Linked DNA regions of Homo sapiens: region 2 is linked to region 1. Evidence: promoter capture Hi-C in human tissues and cell types (Jung and others, 2019). All regions are on one chromosome and are shown on one strand. Each heading gives the region's core, a stretch centred on a gene start or on the middle of the fragment in contact. The rest is flanking DNA. Distances are from core to core; before and after follow the strand shown.

The links. Contacts are between HindIII fragments. The study calls those that stand out against the background at their distance.
Region 2: a fragment that was not itself captured here is called in contact with the fragment with the promoter of TMEM105 in region 1 in 2 of the 25 tissues and cell types used here (aorta and spleen).

The regions. Positions count from the first base shown.
Region 1 is chr17:81,329,379-81,331,993 of GRCh38, forward strand. TMEM105 (TMEM105 long non-coding RNA) reads right to left here and starts at 1,296. Exons shown (of 3, transcript NR_165247.1): 1 at 766-1,296. RefSeq lists enhancers at 1-208, 209-778, 1,922-2,492, 2,493-2,615. The HindIII fragment of the contact is 14,660 bases long and covers 1-2,615 here.
Region 2 is chr17:81,578,568-81,581,182 of GRCh38, forward strand. The region is part of intron 12 of NPLOC4 (NPL4 homolog, ubiquitin recognition factor); the gene reads right to left. Among named protein-coding and RNA genes, the nearest start is that of FAAP100, 28 kb to the left of the region's middle. The HindIII fragment of the contact is 4,699 bases long and covers 1-2,615 here.

The DNA of each region.
Region 1 (2,615 bases), core at 46-2,545:
TAGGCCTGGACGGCTGAGGCTTGGAAACCCCTCCCCTCCCCAAACTTTCCCACCATGCAGGGGCCCAGCAGGCCCTCAGCCCACTCACCCCGCCAGAGGAGGGAGGAGGGAGGAGGGTCCGGGCCAGGTGGGAGCTTCTCCCCGGAGGCCTGAGGCAGCTTCCCTCCTCTCCCAGGAAGGGGCTGGCCCAGGCCCAGCTAGGATGCTCCCAGCCCAGCTCCTACCCGCCGGGTCTTTCCCGTTTGTCAGGCAGGCCGGCAGGCTGGGCTGGTGACTCATGACTGGCTGGGCCATCTGCCCTGCACCCCTGCCCCGGGCGAAGTGAGAAACCTGACCGGGCTCCAGCACAGACAGGAAACCCCACCCCAGGGCCTGCAGTGGGACAGGTGTGGCCGCCCTCCACCCCCACACAGGCCTCGGGGAGGGTGTCTGAGGCCGGCCTGGCCCTCTCTGCAGCACTGAAACACCAGCTGCCTCTCCCCAGCCCGGAACTGGGGATCCAGTGTCCTCCGCACTGACCCCAGGCTCTGCTCTCCCTGGGAAGCACCCGCTTTGACAGTGGGGCCAAGGACTGGGGTTCCCACCCTCCTCTGCCCAGTGGACTTTGTGGCCCCAGGCAGGTGGCATCAGCTCTCTGGGCCTAAGCTTCTCATCTCTGCAGGGTTCATCAGCTCAACAAGCATTTGTGGGTTCCTGAGACCTGAAGGCTCCACTCCCCCACCTAAGCACACAACAGTCCAGGCACCACCCACATCTCCCTCTTACCTGGAGCAGAGGGGCGGGTGTTCGGAGCCTTGGGGCCCAGGGTCATTTGCACTGGAGGGGGCCAGGAACGCTCCCAGGAGTGTGGCAGTCCCTTCCTAGGGGGCCCCTCCTGGAGCAGCTGCCTTGAGAGCCCAGCCTACAGCAGAGCCTGGTGGGGTGGCCGGGCTACTGCTACCTGGCTTCACTGCTTTCTTCTGCCATTCCTCCCAGGCTACCCAGGAGGACGAGAGGGGCAGGGTACTGGCGGCAGCAAGAGAGAACCCGCCCAGGAGGGCCCAGCACGGGAACTCCAGCCTCCAGAGCCAGCAGAGCCACGGGAACAGGAGTTCCTCCTCACAGAGGAGGCGCTGTTGGAGGGCCAGGAGCAAACTCCCAGCAGAGCAAAATGCAGAGGTGACCAGCCCAGGGCACACCAGCCACTGAAAAACCCAACAGTGGGGGCTGCCGTGGGGATCCAGGGTTGGGGGACTCTCAGACGGCCCCCCAGGCTTGTCCCCATGCGTATTCTTTGAGCTGATGGGGACGCAGTGTTCACAGTCCTGACAGGAGGCAGGCGTGACCCCAGTCGGGGAGTGGACTTGGCCCTCTTCACACCCCCAGGGCAGAAAGCCCTGTTCAGAGGTACCAGGGAGCAGGCACAGGCCAGGGTCCGAATTCGTAACAAGCATCCGGGACTCCACATGACGCAGGTCTGAGAATCGATCCCGGGTTCCAGCCCAGCCATCATTTTCAGAGAATACGGGCCCTGTCCCGAGCCGCCAGCCATTGCCAATGGCTGCCCGGAGGAAGGGAGGAAGGGGTGCCCCCAGCTTGTGGAACCAACAAGGGCTTAATGGTAGGGCACGCCCAGGGGCAGACGCCAAGAAAGGAGAGGAGGGGGCGGGGGCTCCGGCCAGGGAAGCCGTGTCCTCTGCACCAGGCAGAACAGGGGGCTGGGCCGCCCTCAGCCTGGATCTGGCCAGGGCTGGGATGCCAGCTCTGAGAACAGGGCCCAGCCCTCACCTGCTTGGTTTGCCTCTTGCCAGGGGAAGGGGCTCAGGAAGGTTTCTGAGCTGCCCCATGCCCCTGCCTGGAGTTCCTGACCCTCGGGGGAAGCTGAGGCTACAGAGAGCACGAAGTGCAAAAGGCCTGGTGGTTGGACCCAGAGCCCCTGTCCCTGGGTCCCCGCTCCTCCCCACCACCCCGTCCCAGCTCTCCCACGCTCCCACGAGGCCACATCATCTTCTGCTCCTGCTGAGTTCCCCTTCACGCATATGAAAAGCAAATTACAGGAGGGAGAAGGCAAACCCGGGGTGAACGGGGGCCTCCTGGGACTCCTTGGACCCCCGGGAGAGCCTGTGAGGGCTTCTATGGGCCGACTGGGATCTCAGGAGCAAAATAGGGGCCCCTAGCCCACAGCGGAGGGCGACTCTAATCAGCAGAGATCGCCCAGCATGCCTTATCCTCAGCAGCTCAGGGCCACCTGTGGGGCAGGGGGAGGGGGCCTGGCCAGCTGGGTCGGCCGCCCCCGGCAAAGCCAGGGGACGCCAGGAGCGGAGCTGTGTGGTGCAGAGCAACTGTGTCCCAGGGGAGGGGGGGTCTGTCTCCGCTCCTCCCAGCTGCAGGCCCTGGGCAGCCGCAACCTCTCAGAGCCTGCCTGCCCCTCTCCTGAGGTCTGGATTTTGCCAGCACAGAGCAGGGACCTCAGCAATATGCCCAGCCTGGCGCAGGCCCAGGGCAGGCCCTCTATCCGCAGGGCATCCTCTGGTCTACAAGTTCTGTGACGACGTGGCTGGCACCAGGGTCTGAGGGCTTTGATGCTGGGGAACGTCCTTGCGCCTCTGCAGTAGATGTGAAAGTCTGTGGAGCCC
Region 2 (2,615 bases), core at 68-2,567, 250 kb after region 1:
AACTTACAAGCATGACAGGAGGGGAAGGGGAAGCAAGGCACCTTCTTCACAAGGTGGCAGGAAAGAGAAGTGCCGAGCAAAGGGGGAAGAGCCCCTTATAAATCTAACACATCTTGTGAGAATGCACTCACTATCACTGAGAACAGGATGGGGGAACCACCCCCATGATTCAATTATCTCCACCTCATCTCTCCTTGACACCTGGGGATTGTGAGTCAAGATGAGGTGTGGGTGTGGACACAAAGCCTATCCATATCACAAAGGGTGCTAGGGGGCGTCCATTTTCTTCTTACCAATCTACAATATTTAATTTTTTCATAATAAACATACATTTCATTTCATATTTAAAATGTTCCATATTTATTTATTTAGAGACAGGGTCTCACTATGTTGCCCAGGCAGGAGTGTAGTGGTGCAATCAAAGCTCACTGCAGCCTCGAACTCCTGGGCTCAAGCGATCCTCCTGCCTCAGCCTACTGAGTACCTGGGGCCACAGGTGCACACAGCATAGACTGCATGCATTACTGTTTAGCGTGGTGGCTCACGCCTGTAGTTCTAGCACTTTGGGAGGCAAGGCAGGTGGATTACTTAAGGTCAAGAGTTTGAGACCAGCCTGGCCAACATGGCAAAACCCCTCTCTACTAAAAATACAAAAAAGAAATTAGCTGGGCGTGGTGGTGGGCGCCTGTAATCCCAAGTACCTGGGAAGCTGTGGCAGGAGAACTGCTTGAACCAGGGAGGCGGAGATTGCAGTGAGCCAAGATCGTGCCATTGCACATCACCCTAGGTGACAGAGCGAGACTCCATCTCAAAAATAAATAGACTTCGAGCTGTCTGATGCATGTGGATCTTTAGATTTGAGACCCTCCTGCTGCCAGCCTCTCCCTCCTACCTGGACAACACCCCCTTCACAAGTTCCTGGTCTAAAAGGTGGTCTCCACTCCAGCCTCCCCCTTCAGCTGACCCTGTGGCTTCCTGTGAGCAAGCTGATCCCCAAACCTGCATCCCATCGCTCCTGCCAGCTCCACCCACCTCTGCCTCCCATCCTCATTGTACTGACCTGTCTCCAGATGCCCCAAAGCTGTCCCTGACACACGGACCATGCCCCTTCCTCTCTGTGTGCCAATTAGCTCCTTTGCTGGACACCAGGAAGCAGTACATGCCCATGTCAGTATTTCCCTTACGTTAATAAAAACCCAAACAAGAAAACTTCTCAATCCCACTTCCCATACTGGTGACTGTCCTTTGCTCTCCCTGGCAGTGAAACCCCCCGAAAGAGTCATGCAGCTTGCTGATGTGAGCTCACCCCCCATTCTCCTCTGTGAGCTCACCCCCCATTCTCCTCTGTGAGCTCACTCTCGGCAGCCGCTTATCTACTACTCAGCCAGGCTCATCAAAGCTCCCAACACCCCTGAGCTGCTGAAGGCAAAGCCTCCTCTCCTGACTCACCAGGGAGCTCCTTTCTTGCCTGCCTTCCAGGGCGCTATGCTCCTGCCCCTCCTCCCCAGCTCCTGCCTCCCAGTGCTCTCCACCTCATTCCCCCAAGGTGGGGTTCTCCTCAGCCATCCCCTCCAGGATGGACAACTCGGCCTCTCACCAGGCCTCAAGCACCACCCCAACACCATCTGTACCATGTGCCTCTCCCAAGCAATGCGCTCACCCCGGGTGGTGCCTCTGCACTAGCACATCGCCGACAGATCCCCAGCCTTCCAGCCTGGCCTGGACACCCTGGAGTCTGCCTGCCTCTTCTCTCGATCACACCACACACTCAACCCCCTCACTACTGCACAGCCATCTCTACTCTCTACCCTAGTCTCCTTTTCCAGCTCCGAGCCCAGCAGCCAGAGTGATCGTCTCACAGCCCCGGCACAGCCATCTCCCTTCAGCACCTTTCAGAAGCCCTCATCTCACTTCCAACCATAGATTCAGCTTCCAAGGGCCCCTCCCACCTCTACCCCAGCAGGCCACCCTGCTTATCACTCTCTGTGTGGGGAACAGGCTGCTGCCTCTGTCTGAACAATCTCCTCCAGACACCCCCAGAGCTGCTCTGCCAATTGACACCTTCTCTCCCCTCTCAGGACTCGACCCACCAGGGCACTCCAAGCTTCTCTACCCGTTCCGCTGGGGTGGCCCACCTCCCCTGCTGCAGCAGTCTCCCCGATGCAGGGAGCCCTTCTCCATTCTCCATGAACTCCAGGGCCTGGCAATTCACAGGTGTTCTCTAAACATGAGAGAATGGATGCCGTGAGAGCATCGCACAGTGAATCAGGTCAGTGCTACCAAGGGCTTGGCCACCCAAACACAACAGCTCTCGCTCCCCGCTCAGCTCTGAAGGGCCCAGGGCCAGCCTCCCATGCCCACAGCTGGGGGCCTGGGAGAGACATGGCATGGAAGTACAAAATCCCCAGTGGCCCTGGGCCAGCCCACCCGTGGGCTTATGCCCGTCAGACTATTTCCTCATGGCTGAAGGAGAAGAAAATAGAGATTTTAAAACACAGTAAGGCTGGAAGCGGTGGCTCACACCTTAATCCCAGCACTCTGGGAGGCCAAGGCGGGTGGATGACCTGAGGTCAGGAGTTTGAGACCAGCCTGGCCAACATGGCGAAACCCTGTCG